7 separate regions of the Homo sapiens genome follow, and regions 1, 2, 3, 4, 5 and 7 are each linked to region 6. Evidence: promoter capture Hi-C in 16 types of primary human blood cells and fetal thymus (Javierre and others, 2016). All regions are on one chromosome and are shown on one strand. Each heading gives the region's core, a stretch centred on a gene start or on the middle of the fragment in contact. The rest is flanking DNA. Distances are from core to core; before and after follow the strand shown. Region 1 overlaps SCLT1 (sodium channel and clathrin linker 1). Region 2 overlaps C4orf33 (chromosome 4 open reading frame 33). Region 3 overlaps SCLT1 (sodium channel and clathrin linker 1). Region 4 overlaps SCLT1 (sodium channel and clathrin linker 1). Region 5 overlaps C4orf33 (chromosome 4 open reading frame 33). Region 6 holds the start of PGRMC2 (progesterone receptor membrane component 2). Region 7 overlaps SCLT1 (sodium channel and clathrin linker 1).

Region 1 (2,700 bases), core at 109-2,608, 750 kb after region 6:
TGCACTTTGGCAATTTAATAAGAACAAGATAAGTAGAAATGGGGAAAATATATGAACAAGCATTTTATGAGAAAAGAAAACCACATAGGTAAATAAACATATAAAAATGGTCAACAATGGGAGGCTGAGGCGGGCAGATCATGAGGTCAAGAAATCGAGACCATCCTGGCTAATATGGTGAAACCCCGTCTCTACTGAAAATACAAAAAAAATTAGATGGGCGTGGTGACGGGCACCTGTAGTCCCAGCTACTGGGGAGGCTGAGGCAGGAGAATGGCACGAATCCGGGAGGCGGAGCTTGCAGTGAGCCGAGATCGCACCACTGCACTCCAGCCTGGGAGACAGAGCAAGACTCTGTCTCAAAAAAAAAAGTCAACAATATTAGTATTCAGGAAAATGCAAATTAAAACAACAATAAAAAAGTATTTAACAGTCAAAATGATGAAAATTAAGCTTAACAAGAGCTACAGGTATTAAAAGATATAGATCAATATAAACTCATAAATATCACTGGTAAGAATGTAAATTGGTACACCTATTTTGGAAATTAAGTTGATATTATATTGCAAAATTGATATTCATATAACCTATAATCCAGCAACTTCCTTCCTTGAAACTCTTGCACTTGTGTATGTTATTGAATAAAAAAGTAAGTCCTAGAACACTAGATGATACCGTTTTTATACAGTCTTTAAAAATGTAAAACTAAAAAGTATATCGCTTGGAGATACACATACCTATAAAAAAACTGTAAAAGCAAGGGAATGATAAACACAAAATTCAAGATAGTGTTTATCTCTGGCAGAGAGAAAGAGAAGGATGGGAAATGGAAGAAAAACATGGATAGATGCACCAGCACTGGCAACATTTTAACATTCAAGCTGAGTGGTAGGCTGAAAAGTTTTCATTTTATCAATATGTTTTCTAACATACATATATATTATATACTACATTATTGATTGCTAATATTGGTAAGGTGATTATTTTGTATGCTACTCCAAGTACTTACTTTATCCCTTACAGTCAGCCCTATGAAATAGGTTCTATTATTATCTCTGATTTATAGAAGAGGACACTAAAGCAGAAAGGGAAGTAACCTGTCCAGGGTCACACAGCTAACAAGTAATCGAGCCAGGAGTCAAATAGAAAATCAGCCCCGGGGTCCACATTCTTAACTATTAATACTATAGCTATCAAATATCAAATAACAAAAATAAAAGTTACCTAAGACAATAATAAAAGATAAAACCAATAGTTAATTGATTTACCTTTCATTTTCCTTGATGACATTTTCAAGTTGTAATTTCATCTCACCCACCTGTTTCTGAAAGAATAAAATATGGTGTGGCAATACATTTTGCAGACAATCAGATCTCCATTAAGTAGACCACTCACGTAAGCAATCAGATTCTGACACTAGTTTACAGATAAGAAAGACTTATTCTTTATTTATAACAAAGGGATAATTAATATGGATAATTTACTAATAAACAGAACACAATAAAACATTCATTTTAAGTAGAATATAAATAAAATAGAAATATTTTATGTAACATGGTGAGAAATGTTTATAAATGTAATTCCTATGACTTGTAGTTGTGAAAAACAGATGAAAGATATTCTGGAGTATGTCACTATAACAAATACCAGATGGTTCCTGTATCTTGAATGTATATCTTAGTTAATTCACCTCAGTTTAGGTGAAGCCCATATAAGTATGTATATTTTTCTAGTATTTCAAAAGGTAAAATGCTAACAGTAAAGAAGAAAATGGAGGTCTTTTTTAGCAGTCATTCATTCAGTTTCTGATTCACCACCTTCATTAACTATCTAAACTCTCCGTACCATACAAGGCGCTAAGGTAAACAGACATGCTCATTGAAAAATAGTAGGAAAGATGGTTAAAAAAAATCCTAACTAAAATACAAGGCAGAATAAAATGCACACCAGAAAGGGAATTAAATGAAGGTCTGATTAACGTTCTCTGAAGGAGTAAAAAGATGTTAGGATTTCAAAAGAAAAGAAAGCATTTAAAGTTGGCGAAAATATGAGTAAAAGCAAAATAGCAAAAAATAAGTAGTCAACTCTCAGTAAGTGTGAATGAGCAAATGGAGAGTGTGCGCGCGCGCACACACACACACACACACACACACACACACAAAACCCTGAATTTACATGTAAAAGCATGCAAAATCTCACTTAAAACGGTAACTAATTCATGATTGTGTATTAGTCTTGATTGTGCTTCCTAAGCTAAAGGAGAGAAGCTTATCCTGGAGTACACTTTCGCAAGGGCCAGGTGGAACAGGCAGTTCTGCCAGCCTTTTTCTCTCTCTTTCAACCGAGAAGATCAAGGAAGCTTGGTCTAGGAGATCAGAATAGCAAATTCTAACTATAAATTTGGTTTGAAAGGTGAACTTTTCCAAGGTCCTCGTTATGCCTGAAACACAATTAAACCAACATGGATTAATTCACTACCAGATAATTGAGCACTGACCATATATGGACTGATACAGTGAGAGATAAAATTGGAAAGACAGGTACAGGGTTTTAAGAATGCCATGGCAAGAGGTTTGGATTTATTGTAGCCATTATCTTAATTTTATAGTTTTTAAATAATTTTTTCCCCTAAGATGGGGTCTCACTCTGTCTCCTAAGGTGGAGTGTGAGAGCACGATCACAGCCCACTGCAGCCAATAA
Region 2 (2,700 bases), core at 24-2,523, 830 kb after region 6:
TGGAAGTTTGAGGGAATTGACAATAGGGACAGGATTCAGTGGATAAATACTCCCCTTTTCCGTCCCTTGGGCAGACAATTCTGAAGTGCATTCTGTATAGTTCCTTAGTGGTCTCCAGTAGGACTCCACTAGGGTCTTCAGTTACCTACAGTACTGATCAGCTTAAAAATGCAATCTTAGATTGGCTTGCTTTATTTAATTTTTCCAAAGTTCCCAATCCCATTCCTTAGAATCACATTCCAAAATTAATGCACTGCACACAACCCTCTGCTTTTGTCAGGGGTAGAAGGGGTATCCAGCCTAAGGCACCTAAGTCCAAGAGGAATATGTGCCTAACAAATCTTCTAACTAAATATATATATATATATATATATATATATAAAATATATATGTTTATATATAACATATATATATAGAGAGAGAGCATAAAATGTGCTGTGTATGTGTGTAGCATATTTTTTGTTAAATCACCATTCCTGGGCCCTACTCATTTTCTGATAATTTCTTATCTTAATTTGCTCTGAAAGAGCAAAACTTATAAAATTGACTATTGTAACTCTATTTTTTACCAACTATCATTTTTCATGGAAGGAATAGTAAAAAGAGTTACCTCTGAAGCTAAGATGACACATGTATGAGGAATATAGGAAGCCAGAAATCATGAATCTATGAAAAGTGAGGGGTGTCTGTGCATATTTTATTTTATTTCATAATAAATAACCAGTAATTAAAATATTCTTTTCCATGTAATGGGATCTACGAGTAAATTTTTGTCTGATATTTATAAATCTAATATGTAATATAAAGGAGAAATAGGAAATGCTGTCAAATGACATTTCACTTTACTACTTATTTGAATTACAATGAAATAATATATAGCTACATCACTGGCTCCTGAGAGAGCTTTGGGTGTTCTGTAAATTTTTTACTTTGCACTCTTGAAAAATTCGCAGAGAATGCAAGGTTTAGTAAAAATTTATTTTCTTTTGGCAGCCTATCACCTGTAATTTCCGTTAAACAGCATTTCTGACTCAATAGTACACTGAAAGCCCATGTTTGTAATAATGCCCTAAAGCACTGCAGTACCTAGAGTATATATTTTGAAGAGATAGCTTTGCTGAAATAGAAAACCAAACTGTAAATTGAAGTCTGAGCATTCAGAGAAATAAAAATTATGCTAAAAACAAACGTATGTTTTTGAATTAGTTTTTTGAAAAATGGCAAAAAGATAATATTAGTTAGTGATATTATTAATATCATTAATATCACTAAATATCATTAGTATGCTTTGGCATACACAGCAGAAACACCAAATGTCTTATACTCCCACAATAGACTGGGCTTTCCTTTTAGCTGCCTGACCTAGTGCAAGTGGCCTCATTGAAATATCTAATACTTATTGAATACTTATTATTTTTTCAGAAACTATATTAAGAACTTTACCCTTACTTTTTACAGCAATCTCAAAGAAAGTCAGATACTCTTGGAATGCTTATTTTTAAAGTTAATGAAACTAAGACCTACAGAGTTAAGTATCTTGCCCAAGATCATACAGTTAAGAAGTAGCAGATTTGAACCCAGGGAATTTGATTCTCAAGAGAAGGCACTTATTTACTATGCTGCTGCCTTTCTTAGTCTTCATTACTCATCTACAAAATAAAGCTATTGAGAGTGATGTCAGCAAGATGGCTGACTAGAAACACCTGGCATTCATTCCCACCACAATAGAGGACCAAGGCAATGAATAAACAGCTAAGATTTTGACTACGGTGTTGAAGGGAGAGTGCTGGAGTGTGATGGAGGAGTAGTGATTGGAAGTCTACGAGGGTAAGGTGGAGGTACCTGTTGTCTGCAGCTTCATCTTCTCTGCCTGGATCAGATATACCTGGAGTCAGGAGAGACTTCACATGTGGGAAAAGGATAAGCAGGAGATCCCCACTGTCCCCCAGCCCCATAGCCACCGCAAACACCTATAGTCCTTAAACAGAAGAATCCCATAGTTCCTGTAAGCCCCGAGTCCATCTTGGAGAGCTGCAGGGAATTTATGCAGCTGTGTTGCACTGGATTAGTAGTACAAGGTGTATACTCCCCACCCCTACTCACCCACTGTGAGCCAAGCTGCTGCAGCATGGTGCCATCTTGAGACCTGAGCCATCTCTGGAGTGTGTCTTGCTCTGAGGTCAGTAGCCACTGTGCTTTTCCAGCACTGGGGCTCCATCTTCATTATGCCAAACCCACATGGATGATTGAACCTCACAACCCAGCTGTGGGGAGTCTGGGCTCAGGATTGGCTATGACTCTGGTCTTGTATGGCAGAGAAACCAACCCCCACCCCTGCTTAAGGCAGGAGGAACCGTATACCAGTCCTTCCCAGGACGAACCTGCCCTCGAGCCAGCCAAACTGCTGCATGCCTTCTTCCAAGTGGGAGAGGTCTCTGAACATCCGAGCAGCTGATACACCCAGTGGAGTCGGCTATGTGCCCACACTCAGAACCTGAGAAACAGCCCTGCACCCTCACATCCTCCCCTAACCCCACCACAAACACACCCCTGGGCCTTCCCACTGGCCCTGTGCTCCCAATAAGGACCTGAAAAATAGGTGGACACATCCCTAGGCTAGCCAAGCAGCCAAGAGCCTATGTCCCAGACCTGAGAAACAGCCCCATGGGCTGTCCCCAGTGGACATGCCCCTGAGCCAAC
Region 3 (2,700 bases), core at 127-2,626, 790 kb after region 6:
TCACCATTATGCTATCTGTTAAAAACATCTTTCATAATCAAGTCAACCATAGCTTTCCACAGATATGATGCATTACCGTGGCCAGAGTCATCTGGGGCTTTAAAATAAAAATTTTTTTTTACTCTTTTGTTCAGGCCTATTCCACAAGACACTAAACAGAAGCAAAAATCTTAAGATTCTGAGCAAAACTTAAAGGCTGTTGGAATATGAAAGATTCTCTATCACTTAAATTATTACAGTTATTAAGTATGCATAAAAATTATATATTATAATAAAAATAATATGGTTATAACAGCAAATAGTGAATGGATAGCTTCAAGACTCTGTGGACTCTGAATCTGGTCTTTGGAAATAAAAGCATAGAGCAGTCAGCTAAATATTGAATATACATTAAAAAATATCTATAAGAATAAGTACTCAAGCCAACCAAATAAACTATTCCTTTTTAATACTAAAAACAAGCTCTTCACTTTTAATACCTTGAAAATAATTTTAGTTCTGCATTAGTCCATTCTTGCACTGCTATAAGGAAATACATAAGACTGGGTGATTTATCAAGAAAAGAGGTTTAATTGGCTAATTGTTCCACAGGCTGTACAGGAAGCCTGGCTGGGGAGGCCTCAGGAAACTTTCAGAATGCAGAAGGTGAAGGGAAAGAAGGCACATCTTACATGACTGGAGCAGGAGGAAGAGAGAAAATGGGGAGGTACTACCCATTTATAAGCAAGCAGATTTCATGAGAACTCACTCACTATCAGGGGAACAGCAAGGAGAAAATTCACCCCCATGATACAATCACCTCCCACCAGGGCTCTCCTCCAACACTGGTGATTACCATTCGACATTAGATTTGGGCAGGGACACAAATCCAAAGTGTGTCACTCCACCCTCGGCCCTTCCCAAATCTCATATCCTCACACTGGAAAATACAATCGTCCCTCCTCAACAGTCCCCCAAGTCTTAACTCATTTCAGCATTAACTCAAAAGTCCACAGTCCAAAGTCTCATCTGAGACAAGACAAGACCCTTCTGCCTATGACCCTGTGAAATAAAAAACAAGTTAGTTACTTCCAAGATACAATGAAGGTATAGAATTGGGTAAATACTCCCTTTCCAAAAGGGAGACATTGATCAAAAGACAGGGTCTACAGGCCGCGGGGCATGTCCAAAACCCAGAAGGGCAGTCATTAAACCTTAGGGGCCCAAAATAATCTCCTTTGACTCCATGTCTCACATCTAGGCAACACTGATGCAAGGGGTGGGCTCCCACAGCCTTGGGCAGCTCTGCCTCTGTTGCTCTGCAGGGTACATTCCCTGCAGCTGCTTTCACAGTCTGGCATTGAGTGCCTGAGGCTTTTCCAGGCACATAGTGCAAGCTGTTGGTGGACCTACAATTCTTTGGTCCGGAGGATGGTAGCTCCCTTCTCACAGCCCCACTAGGCAGTGTCCAGTGTGGATTCTGTGTGGGGGCTCCAACCCTACATTTCCTCTTTGCACTGCCCTAGCAGAGGTTCTCCATGAGGGCTGCGCCCCTGCAGCAGGCTTCTGTGTGGACATCCAGGCATTTCCATATATCCTCTGAAATCCAGGCAGAAGCTCCCAGGCCTCAACTCTTGCCCTCTGTGCACCCACAGGCTTAATACCATGTGGAAGCTGCCAAGATTTATGGGTTCCACCCTCTGGAGCAGTTGACTGCGATGTTATCTGGGGCCCTTTTAGCCACAGCTGGAGCTGAAGCAGCTGGGACCAGGGAGCAATGTCCTGAGGTTGTACAGGGCAGTGGGGCCCTGGGCCTGCCCCCACAAAATCATTCTTCCCTCCTATGTCTCCAGGCCTGTGATGGTAGGGGCTGTGGTGAACATCACCAAAATGCCTTTGAGGCATCTTTATTGTCTTGGGCATTCAGCTCCTCTTTACTTATGCAAATTTCTGCAGCCAGCTTCAATTTCTCCCTAGAAAATGGGTTTTTCTTTTCTATCACATGGTCAGGCTGTAAACTTTCCAAACTATTATGCTCTACTTCCCTTCTAAATATAAGTTCCAGTTTCAGACCATCTCTTTGCAAACACATATGAACTTACACTGTTAAAAGCAGCCAGGCTACATCTTGAGTGCTTTCTTGCTTGGAAAGTTTCCTGCCAAATACCCTAAATCATCTCTCTCAGGTTCAAAGTTCCACAGATCCTTAGAGCAGGGGCACAAAGCTGCCAGTCTCTTTCTACAACATGGCAAGAGTGACCTTTACACTAGTTCCCAGTAAGCTCCTCTTCTCCATCTGAGGCCTCCTCAGCCTAGACTTCACTATCCGTATCACTATGAGCATTTTGGTCACAACCATTCAACAAGTCTCTTGGAAGTTCCAAACTTTCCTTCATCTTCCTGTCTTCTTCTGGGTTCTCCAAACTGTTCCAACCTCTGCCCATTATGCAGTTCCAAAGTCACTTCCACATTTTCAGGTATCTTTATACCAATGCCCATTCACTGGTACAAATTTTCTATATCAGTCCATTCTCACACTCCTATAAAGAAACATCTGAGACTGGGTAATTTATAAAGAAAAAAAGGTTTAGTTGGCTCATAGTTCTGCAGTCTGTGGGAGAGAGAGTTTCTGGGGTGCCAGATGAGTTGGTCTCCCCCGTGTGAAACACCCATGGGAAGCCATGGGCGGCCTCTGAGGAGAAAAGTCTCCTTATTGCCTTT
Region 4 (2,700 bases), core at 27-2,526, 770 kb after region 6:
GTGGGGGCAGGGCACAGCACTGGCCCAACTCCTGAGAAGAAAAGGTACTCTGGAGATTTGTGCCTGAGAAGCAGAGTATACCTAGAAGTAAGCAACTTGAGCCAGTAGAGTTCAGTGGCATCTCAGATACCAGGGGATAAGACACCATGTAGTGGTGACTATAGACCCTAGGATGGTAAGGCTTATCTGTATCTTACTTTCTGTGAGGGCAGATGCGCGGCAGCAAGTTTCCCAGAATGGCAAAGTACAGTTGTCTTTCCAGCTTTGGGGGCATCAGAATAGCCCAACAATTAATCCACTCCCTAGAAAGAAATGTGTCTCTGCAGCACAGACTCTAGGGGCTAGTCCAGCTCCAGGGAAGCAGGGTATGAGATGTCTGGCCTGTAGGGTGGGGTGTTTCAGCTTAGTCACTGATGTTTCCTTGGGATAAGCAACTCAGGTCTGACAGGGCAGCAATTTCCCAGAAGGTGATAGCATACTTCAGATCAATCCTGGGGACAATGAGCATTCTGAGTGGTCTAAACACCATTTTGCTAGAATGTGGGATGCTGCTTCAAATTGAGGCATTGAGGAGATGTGATTGCTCTGAGTGGCTAAGGTGCTGTTCTCATAGGAGACAGGGTACCACTTTGGGTCCAGTCTGGTGGTGGGGGCGTGGATGGGGTGAGGGGAAGGTAGAGTAGTTCCACCTCTGCCTGGCCCACAGGGAAGGGTGTAACAGTTTCTCACAGCTCAGTCTTGAGATGCTGAACCACTGAGATGAGGTGGCTGAAAAGCTGCTTAGCCTCAGTTAATGAAGGGGAGCTACTTGCCCCCAGAGCAAGGCACACTCCAATTGCAATTTCAATTCCACAGTGCATAGCACACTAGTTGCATAAGCCTCAGGTGTCAGGGTACAGTGTTAGTTCCTGGTTATGTGGACTCTAGGTTGCTCCCTCAGATAAGCTTAGTGACTTTGAGGATTGCAGGGGACCCCAGTGGCGAGGTCTGTAGGAGTTAATGCAGGCTGCATTAACTCGCAGCCACCCCAGTGGCGAGGTCCGTAGGAGTTAATGCAGGGGACCCCAGTGGCAAGGTCCAAGGAGTTAATGCAGGCTGCTGAGATCCTCCTGCTTACCTTTCCCAAGTAGAGAGAAATTCCTCCTTGTTCCTAGCTGGTCCCAGTTGGGGGTTGGTGTAATGGAAGCCCGTCATTTCCTTCCATTTTCTACATGGCCATTTTGAGTTTCTGTGCCCACTTGGGTTTCTGTTACTCCTCTGATGCACTCTGGCACTCACTCTCGGTTATTTTTGTTAAAATGAAGTTATATGTTGTTCTGGCTATCTTTGTGAGGGGAACAATTGCTAGAGTCTTCTACTTGGCTATCTTGCAGATGTCACTTTTTCTCTTTTAACCTTTGTAGAAGAGGTAAAAGTGATTTATACACCACCATTACAGTGTCAGAATATTCTTGACTATAAACTTACTTTTATCAATGAGTTGATAGTTTCATGTTTCAATATTTTAATAAGTAGTATCACTTTGCTTCAGCTTCAAGAACTCTTTAGCATCTTTTGTAAATTGGGGCTAGTGGTGATGAACTCCCTCAGCTTTTGCTTGTCTAGGAAAAGCTTTATCTCTCCTACATTTCTGAAGGGTAGTCTTGTTGGGTAAAGCATTCTTGGTTGACTTTTTTTTTCTATCAGTACTTTCAATATACCATCCCACTGTCTCCTGATCTGTAAGGTATCTGTTGAGAAATCCATTGATTGCCTACGGAAGTTCCTTTGTATGTTATAAGTCCTTTTCTCTTGCTGCTTTTAGAATTAACTGTCTTTGATTTTTGACAATTTGATTATAATGTGCCTGAGTAAAGTCATCTTTGGGTGAATCTGTTTGGGAACCCTTGGGTCTTATGTCTGACGTCCAGACGTCTCCCAAGATTTGGGAATTTTTCAGACATCATTTCTTTAAGCTTTGTGCTTCTTTTTTTCTCTCTCCTCCTTCTGAGACTCTCACAATCTGTGTATCACTTCTTTTGACAATGTCTCATAAATATCTTAAGCTTTCTTAATTACTTTTCAATCTTCTTTTTTTCTTGTCTGACTGGGTAATTTCAAATGACCTGCTTTCAAGTTCACAGATTATTTCTTCTAATTGATCAAGTGTAATGCTAAAGCTCTCTATTGCACTTTTCATTTCATTAACTGTATTACGTTGCTATCTTAACATCTGAATCAGTCTTACGTTGCCATCTTAACATATGAAGCAGTCACCTCCTGCGGTCTTTACTGACTGGCTTTGGGAAACAAACAGCTTCACCAAGCTTCTCTTAGACATTTTCAATAGATGTACCCACTCCATACCTTCAGCCATTACCGTTTAGGGAGAATTCCTAAGACTATATGCTTTCTTTGGATCCCATTAAACTAGGCTGGGTGTTGAGAATATCCCATGTTTTTTTTGTGGGGGTAGTGCCCTGAAATGCTCAAGTTTGTGTGCATTCTCTAAATCCCAAAGAGTTGTGCCAGCTGACTGTGCTTGCATTCCCCATCTAGGGGGTGCACATGACAGCCAGCCATGGGGAAGGAGGGCAGTAATGCATATGAAGAGTTGGAATCACCTGTGGGCCAGCTGGTGTGGTGGTACACCACAGGTTAGGCATCCCAAGCAGCTTATGAGTGGGTCTGCTGATAGAGTCTGCAAAGTGGTTAGTAGGA
Region 5 (2,700 bases), core at 137-2,636, 810 kb after region 6:
ATAAATGCACCTTGCTTTTTTTCACTTCACAACATATTTTAGCATAGATGTTAATTCAGAGCTGCCTCATTCATTTTAGCAGTTATACAGTGTTTCATTGTATGGTATAGCATAATTTTTTTTACCAGTCCTCTACTGATGGGTATTTAAGTTGCTTCCAACATTTTGTTATTATGAACAATGCTACCACAAATATCCTCAACGCTTATGTCATTTTGAATATGTGCAGGTATAGTAACTCCTAGAACTAGACTTATTTTTGTCAAAGGATAGTTGCATTTTTATTTTGATAGATATTGACGTATTGCTCTTCACAGAGGCTATATCAATTATGCCTCACTAGCAATAAATGATTTTTTTCTCAATGCCTTCATTAACACAGCTTGTTGTCAGACTTTCTGATCCTTGCCAATCTAAGTGAAAAATGGTAATTTATTGTGGTTTTAGTTTGCATTTCTGTCATTATAAGTGAACATTTTGCATTTTCTCTCCGTGAACTGGCTGTTCATAATTTTTGGTCACTTTTCTGTTGGAGTGTTGGTCTTTTCCTTATTGATTTCTAGGAGCTCTTTGTGCATTAAAGAAATTAGTTATTTGTATCAAGTATGAATTGCATATACTTTTCCCCAGACTTTTGATTTTGTTAATGATAGGCTTTTGGAGTAAAGGGAACTTGGGAAGGAGGTTTTTGCTTTTTTACTATTATTTATCTATTATTAAAAAAATTCAACTTTTATTTTAGATCCAGGGTATATATGTGCGGGTTTGTCACATGGTTATATTGCATGATGCTGAGATTTGAGGTACGAATGATCCTATCACCTGGGTAGTGAGCATAGTACCCAGTAGTTAGTTTTTCAACCCTTGCCCCTTTCTTCCCTCCCCCCTCTAGTAGTCCCCAGTGTCTGTTGTTGCCATCTTTATGTCCATGAGTACCTACTGTTTAATTTCCACTTATAAGTGAAAATATGTGGTATTTGGTTTTCTGTACTTTCATGAATTTGCTTAGAATAATAGCCTCCAGCTGCATCCATGTTAGTTTTGCTATATTTATGTAGTAAAATGTTTGGGTTTTGGTTTGTATTTTAAAAGGTTTTCTCTACTAATGCAGGGAAAGCCCAGATTTGGGGCTCAGCCCAGGAGAGTTCTTGGCTTCATGCAGGAAAGGATTCACAAGCTAAAGCAAGTTTATCAGAGCAACAAACTACAGGAAAATGGCTGCTCCATAGACAGAGTAGGAGCAGCAGCTCCCATGAATTGTTGGCCAGCTGTATACATACAATTCCCTGGTTATATGCTAAATAAGGGGTGGGTTATTCATGCATTTTCCAGAAAAGTAGGAAGGGTTCCCAGAACTGAGAGTTCCTCCCTTTTTTAAACCATATAAGGTAACTTCTAGGAGTTGCCATGGCATTTGTAAACTGTCATGCCACTGTTGGGAGTTTTTTTTTGCATGCTACTGCATTATAATTAATGTATAATGAGCAGTGAGGGCAACTAGAGATCACTTTTGTTGCCATCTTGGTTTTAGCTGGTTGTGGCCAGTTTCTTTGCTGCATCTTGTTTTGATAAGATTCTGTTTCAATCAGTGGGACCTTGGTGCTCAGAAAACAAGCCCAGCTCATCTCCTACCTTACTACTATAAGATTTTATTTAACTCTCTTTTTATTTCCTGTTTTTATATGATTTTGATTTTTATGTTTAAATCTTTGATTCATCTAAAACTTACTTTGGTATAAGGATCCCACTGAATTAAATTGGACTGCAAAATGAACCAACTGATGTTGGAAACGGGTACCTCATTGATTAGTTACATGAGAACCATCCCAAACTCCTGTAGACTTATTATATATTATTTCCCCAGCACCTGGTATGGTACCTGAAATAAGATGAGTGCTTAATAAATGCTTGATAAACTAAATTGAAGGGAATTTCTGGGCTTATTATCTTTGTTATTAGCCATTGTATTGATCTGATATGTAGTGTTAAATGAGATGATGATACCACGAACACAGTAGATTTCTCCTGCACAAAATCTAGAGTGTTAGATCCAGGGACTAGAAAAATTATTCACTCAACAAATAAATAGTAACCATCACTTATAGGCATTCTAGCTGGGTTCAGGGAGTCAATAAACAAATATGTAATGCCATGTAATTGCCATGTAAGAATAGAAATAGAGCAGTGTATAGGTTAATAGAGAATGACCAGGAGGGGAGCGCTAGCCCAAGAGGTGAAGGACATTGACAATTAAGTTGTCTTTACTTAATGAACACATGTTCAAATACAAAGAAATTGAAAGGTTGTGGGGGTTAAATCTCAGAAGATTACAGAGGGAGAATCATCTGTCTCTAGTTTATGTTAGTTTTAAACTAGACTGTTAACTACTGGGCAGGACGGACTATACTTTTTAGGTTAATTTTTATAAATATTATGCATTCTTAGATTGACGTCAGTGTTCTTTAAGCGATATAAAGTTTAAAAAAAAAAACAAATTTGTCATTGCAATAAGAAACGAAAGTTGTTTATGCAATTAAAGCCAAAATTATATTCTGTCTTTGGACTGATCAGCCATGCACTATTCCCTACTTGTGGAAGTCTAGTCACTATTTTTTGCAGTAATTTTCAAATAATGCTCAAAGAAACCTTAGGGGGGAAAAGCAGAAGGAACCAGTAGAAAGGTTTGAGGTACTCACTACC
Region 6 (2,700 bases), core at 143-2,642:
TACACAAAGTTCCCTGAAAACAAAGTTCTCTCAAAACAAAGTTCTAAAAATCTTTAACTTGCATAACTGGCACATGGGGGTATAAATCTACAACTCTTCTAAGTTTTTTCTCCTTAGTTCTGCTAAGTGAAAACACAAGTCATTATCAACGTGTACTTGAAAAGAGAAAAAAAAAGAAAAAAGAAACCAGAGACACGCCTGCTGGGTATAGGAGCTCCACCCCCAAAACTCAAGGTGAATATCCTTACCAGTCTTTAATAAGCTCTGCATTCTGGTCTGTTCTCATCCCACATACCTTGTTAATCATGGAAAGCAACTCCGAACTAAAACTGGTTTAAAGAGAGTCCGAGGTGTTGCTTATACGTCTGGACTTCAGAGACTGGAGGGTTGGGACTTTACATGCCCCTAAACGTGGCCTTACGGAGTAATACAGCGAGGGAAAAAAGGAGATCAGTGGCAAAAAAAAAAAAAAAGGGGGCAAGGAAAAGAAAACGGTGAATTACAGAGCCCAAAACTTTAGTTTAGGTCCCAACTTCAGAAATCTCCCTTCCCTGGTGCCCCATCCATCCCAGGAATCAGGAGACTCAAAAAAGGTTAAGGGCCAGCGTTGACCTGTGACAACTAAAACGATTTTGAAAAATCCAGCCAAAGAAACAAAAAAAAAAGGCTGCGAGGAGAAATGGGATGGAAGAAAGATGAATGCTGAGAGCTGGTCTCTGGGGCGCCACCGGGGACCCTGGTTTCGGGGGAAGAACTGGAGGTGCCCGTAGCTGCGGGGGGACGGTGTGTGTGTAGGGGCGGGATGGGCCGTCCCAGGTGCGGCGGCCGAGGCGCGGGGGTCCCGGAGACGAGAAGGCTGGGCAAACTAACCCGGTGCCCAGAGGCCTCCCTGTCCGAAGGGGGTTGTGCTTCAGCTGCAGGGGGTCCTTCCCCTCCCCTTCCAACTCCTCACCCGGGCCGTAGAACTTGCTGCCTTTGGTCACGTCGAAGACTTTCCCATTGACCGCGAGCAGGATGCGCGGGTTGCGGGAGCCGTCGTACTGGCGCAGCTGCTCCAAGCTGAAGTCCCGCTTCTTCATGCGAGGCAGAGAGGTGGCGGGGCTCTCCTCGCCCGCCCCGGCCCCGGCCCCCAGACCCCGCCGCCCCCAGCGCACCCACAGCCGGTAGGCCCCCAGCAGCACCAGAGCCACCAGCGCCACGTTCAGCAGCATTTCCCCGCCCCCCGTCAGAAGCGCCAACGCCGCCGCCGCCCAGCCTCCCCCTTCCGCTGCCGCTCCCGCGTCGCCTGGACTCTCGCTGCCGCCGTCGTTGCTGCTCTCGCTGCCACTCCCCAGGGTGCCTAGCTTCACGTCCCCATCACCAGCCGCCATCACTGCCCGCCAGCGCCTTCCTCCTCCTCCCCGCCCCCTGCCCTCCCCAACCCCACGGCCGGCCCCGCCCATCTGGGGGCCTCTCAGCCAATAACGTGAGAAGAGGGGGCGGGGTCAGGCCGGCTCCTGATTGGGTGTTGACGGGGTAACGTTGTCTCGGATCTCCCGCCCCCTCCCTTCTTTCGCTGGCCGCGCACGCGTGCAACGCCCCGCCCACCTCGCCCCACACTTCCCTGCTCTCACTCCAAGCCTCCGCTAGGTTAAGTAGACGAGCCGGGCGGGTCTGAAGAAAAGATGCTACGACGGCCGCGCGGACGCTCATGGGCGGGGCGAGACCACAGCGCGTGCGCGGGCTCCTGAGCGCCACGCGCTCGCCTTTCGTTCGTAACCCCTGCGGGAGGCACGCCCCGCCCAGTCTCCAGGCTCTGCGCGTGCGCCCTGGAATCGCTTCCCTTCCTAGGCCTGCGTTCGCGTCCGCAAACTCCCGCCTCCTTGCGCTCCCCCCGCCCGGGAGCTTCACGTGCGCCTTGGCGGCCGCGGGGGCAGGTCCGGGCTGGACGCCTGGCGGAGGACGCGGGCAGGTGGCTTGTGGGAGGCTGGGGCATAGTTGAGCTGCAAGGCGCAAACCGATGAGGGGCGTCTGCTTTTCACCAGGGCGCCGTCGCTTTTGTCGGGAAACCGGCAGCGTAGGCGCGCAGACCGGGAAGCGGCAAGAAGATTTGGCCACGAGCTGGGGTCTTCCTGGAACGGAGAGAAAGCACGGAACCCGCACCGGGCTTCTCTGGCATCGGCAGTCTACGTGCTCCTCGCGCTGGCACCGAGCAGCCACTCCCCGCTGGGTTTGGCAAAGGCTGCTCTTGTAGAATTTTAAAGGATTTAGAGTCTCATTATTCCTTGAATCATAACTTCTGCGGCCGTAGGGAAGTGGACAGGTTGAGGTGGTCTTTCTATTCGTCATTCACTCTTATTTGCAGGTTCTGTTTCATGTACTTGGACGTCTTTTAGCCTCTCACACCTTGAAATTCTAGTGTGAAAAAGTGACCTCTGAAGTCTCACGCACTCAACTCGTTTGACGAACTCGTTTGACGTGTTCTCTCTTGCCCTTTGTTGTCTGTTGTCTTGAGTCTCATAGAATAGGTTTGAACCTTTCACTGTCGGTTTTGTAGGAGTCACTGAGGATATTGACGAGGCAAGTGACAGGGTCGACACTCTTGTAGAGAGGCTGTATAGCAACCAGGTGTCTGAAGGATTAGAGGCTGGGGAAAGAGTGGGAAAGCAGTTAGTAGGCTAGGGTATTTGTGCGTGAGGTGAGGAGACTCAGAGCTAGGGG
Region 7 (2,700 bases), core at 38-2,537, 660 kb after region 6:
TACGTACTAATGATGTTCAATTATTTTATAGAAGAAGTGTATTTCAATATGTTTTTAAATTTTAAAGTAAGCTTCTTTTGTGACCCAAAATTAATCACCATTGATGATAATGAAGATCTTTAAACCTGTTACAAATCAGTTGACAAATTTAAATTTAATATCTTTTATTAAGATAGAACCCTGAGTGTATACAAAATGCAACATTAATATTCCACATATTCATATAGTAAGTTGCTTATCTAGGAGAGGGTAGTTTCAGTGCTAAATTTGGGATTTTACCTACATTCGTAACTCCTCCCATGTGATTTTTAATATATATGTTAATAACAAAGTCTGGCTCACACTTCTGGGGCTGGCAAGTGGTATATAAAGAAATGCATGTGTAAGTATGCTTCATATCCCTCTCCACCCAATCCACCATTTCACTGACAAATGATGATGGCCTAAAGAATATTTGGTTAACCTGGGGGTAAAAAAGGTAAAATGAGACAGCAAAGTTTAAGCCTTTAGAGAGAATTACCATACTAATTCTAGTAGAAATGCACTATAATACTAAAGCAAACATTAAAAATTACTATTACAAAGTTTTTAGAGATATTTGCTTATCACCACTGACATGCCTACCTTTGGGGGAAAATATGACAAAATAATAGATATTTTTTCAGGTACTCATGGAGTATTTCCAAAATAATACTCTATAAAAGAAGTCTCAATACATATTAAGAACCAACCATATAGACCATGATCTGTGCTGCCGACCTAACCAAATGAGAAATCAACAATAAAAGACAGTGTAAATCCTCATGTATTTAGAAACTAAAAAAAAGACTTCCAAAAAATTCATCCATCAAAGAAAAGATCATAATGAACATTTTATGTTACTTTTGTAAGTTTGAACATTTTATAATTAATTTTCTTATTTGATATAGATTAATAGCAATCTGCTACATGGCAGAATAAAACCTTGAATATTCTTAAGATAAACTACACCTTACCAGAGAAAACAAAGGCTGTTAGGTACGTGTTGGTCTCCAAAGGGAGATATGTAGCTTGAAATGTAATGGCTCCGGCTTTTTCTTAATCTATTAAATAATCTGCACACTCATCTAAAATACAAATTTTTCTCCTTCCTGTGAGCATACCTTACTTTTGGATCAGCAAAAGTATGCATAACTTCCTTCCTGGACTTCATAGTGTAAATAAATAGTATAGATGGATAGTATATTATACTAATACTATTAGTCTAGATAGTAAAATTGTTAATAATAGAAAACAATAGCAAGCATCAGGTTATTATGCTTCAAACTGTAGCTTAGATTTTTTGAGAAAATCTGTCTTAAAGTAGCCAAATATGTTTTCCTTTGAACATATTTTTAACATAATACTTCAAACTTTTCAATTACACAGTATAGTTCTCCCCATAGAATCAACATGACTATGAGATGTTTCATATCTTTAGAAAAATCACTTAGCTATGAAGTAGAATTGTTTTACTATAAGAAACACTTTTTGCAATAAACTGAAATTGTCATTCTTTTTACTCTAAAGTGAGTTTAATATAGCTCTGGTTGTTACACAGCTAACAACGATTTGAAAAATCCCTGGAAGTCTTAGCCAGTCCTTGTTCCCTTGAGAATACAGAAAGAATGAATATTCATGCCCTTGCAGAGTTTACCATCCATTAAATGATCTTGGACTGGGGTAGTACCCTTCTACTCCTCTTTTTCCACAAAGATACGAATCTCTTGATAGCTAATCAGCCCATGAAAGAAAACAAGCAAAATAACTGGGTGATAGAAAAGGAAGCAAAACTCCACAACAACAAAAAATTACATGTCACTAACTGGCCACATTGCATCTCACTAATTTTACTTGATGTTCCTACATTATTAAAATAAGTGACATTAAACAAACAAATACAAAATAAATATTCCTTGTTCTATTACATTTGGGACCAATACACAATGATTAAGATCCCGTCATGTGCTCTCCAAAGTTTGTAGAATGGCGAAAGAAAATGTGATCCCTCTTTCAGAGTGTTTAAATATACCATTCAGTTGATAAACATTTAAAAATATACTCTGCAAAACACTGTACTAGGCAAGCAACAGGGAAAATAAAGGAAGGCGTAAGACTCTACTATGTTGAGATGCTTACAATCTAATTGCAGAGGTAAGATTTTCATGGAGAGAGACAGAGTGTGTATGCTCAACATACACCTAAAGCATGATAGTTATTACAAGATATGATTCATTGCTAAATTTTGTAACAGAGATAAAAAGTGATACAGGGAGTCAGAAAAGATGAAAGTTTGTGAAGTTATAAACATTTTCTCAATTCTTGAAAATTGTTATACTTTTATTCTCCTATAAGCAAGGTTATTAAATTTCATTACATCAAATCTTCAAGTTAAACTTCTATTTCCAATCTCACCTCTAGCCACACAAGTATTCTTTTCCTCTCCCCTCTTGGCCTACTCATTCCTCAGTATTCATTTCTTTCAGGAAGCTTTCTGTATTTCTTCCTTCCCACTGTTATATATACTTTCTCTTTCTCCTTGGTTTCCCAGATAAACTCAGCATATGATAGGAGCTACAGCTAGCAATAGCATCCTGTGCATTCTCTGTCAAAGACAGGTAGTTACAGTAAAATGTGATAAATGCCATCTATCTTTCCTGCTAGAACATAAGCCACAAGGCT

What was found. The method cuts DNA at HindIII sites, captures the fragments that hold promoters and counts their contacts. A CHiCAGO score of 5 or more calls a contact.
Region 1: a contact is called between a fragment that was not itself captured here and the fragment with the promoter of PGRMC2 in region 6, in 2 of 17 cell types (M1 macrophages and monocytes). The highest score is 5.3, in M1 macrophages.
Region 2: a fragment that was not itself captured here is called in contact with the fragment with the promoter of PGRMC2 in region 6 in 1 of 17 cell types (neutrophils); the score reaches 5.9 in neutrophils.
Region 3: a fragment that was not itself captured here is called in contact with the fragment with the promoter of PGRMC2 in region 6 in 10 of 17 cell types (neutrophils, fetal thymus, total CD4 T cells and 7 more); the score reaches 13.2 in neutrophils.
Region 4: a fragment that was not itself captured here is called in contact with the fragment with the promoter of PGRMC2 in region 6 in 1 of 17 cell types (fetal thymus); the score reaches 6.1 in fetal thymus.
Region 5: a contact is called between a fragment that was not itself captured here and the fragment with the promoter of PGRMC2 in region 6, in 16 of 17 cell types (naive B cells, total B cells, non-activated CD4 T cells and 13 more). The highest score is 28.9, in naive B cells.
Region 7: a fragment that was not itself captured here is called in contact with the fragment with the promoter of PGRMC2 in region 6 in 4 of 17 cell types (neutrophils, total CD4 T cells, M2 macrophages and 1 more); the score reaches 11.3 in neutrophils.

The regions. Positions count from the first base shown.
Region 1 is chr4:129,037,773-129,040,472 of GRCh38, forward strand. SCLT1 (sodium channel and clathrin linker 1) reads right to left here. Exons shown (of 21, transcript NM_144643.4): 5 at 1,269-1,324. Among named protein-coding and RNA genes, the nearest start is that of SCLT1, 54 kb to the right of the region's middle. The HindIII fragment of the contact is 1,814 bases long and covers 452-2,265 here.
Region 2 is chr4:129,115,450-129,118,149 of GRCh38, forward strand. C4orf33 (chromosome 4 open reading frame 33) reads left to right here. Exons shown (of 6, transcript NM_001099783.2): 6 at 1-1,188. Among named protein-coding and RNA genes, the nearest start is that of C4orf33, 21 kb to the left of the region's middle. The HindIII fragment of the contact is 5,561 bases long and covers 1-2,700 here.
Region 3 is chr4:129,078,282-129,080,981 of GRCh38, forward strand. All of the region lies in intron 2 of SCLT1 (sodium channel and clathrin linker 1), which reads right to left. Among named protein-coding and RNA genes, the nearest start is that of SCLT1, 14 kb to the right of the region's middle. The HindIII fragment of the contact is 5,094 bases long and covers 1-2,700 here.
Region 4 is chr4:129,061,010-129,063,709 of GRCh38, forward strand. The region is part of intron 2 of SCLT1 (sodium channel and clathrin linker 1); the gene reads right to left. Among named protein-coding and RNA genes, the nearest start is that of SCLT1, 31 kb to the right of the region's middle. The HindIII fragment of the contact is 666 bases long and covers 944-1,609 here.
Region 5 is chr4:129,097,447-129,100,146 of GRCh38, forward strand. All of the region lies in intron 1 of C4orf33 (chromosome 4 open reading frame 33), which reads left to right. Among named protein-coding and RNA genes, the nearest start is that of C4orf33, 2.6 kb to the left of the region's middle. The HindIII fragment of the contact is 2,806 bases long and covers 1-2,700 here.
Region 6 is chr4:128,286,421-128,289,120 of GRCh38, forward strand. It overlaps PGRMC2 (progesterone receptor membrane component 2), which reads right to left and starts at 1,393. Exons shown (of 3, transcript NM_006320.6): 1 at 953-1,393. The coding sequence starts at 1,370. RefSeq lists silencers at 1,033-1,092, 1,273-1,322, 1,333-1,512, 1,833-2,022, 2,394-2,688. The HindIII fragment of the contact is 4,970 bases long and covers 1-2,700 here.
Region 7 is chr4:128,949,910-128,952,609 of GRCh38, forward strand. All of the region lies in intron 14 of SCLT1 (sodium channel and clathrin linker 1), which reads right to left. Among named protein-coding and RNA genes, the nearest start is that of JADE1, 140 kb to the left of the region's middle. The HindIII fragment of the contact is 2,437 bases long and covers 70-2,506 here.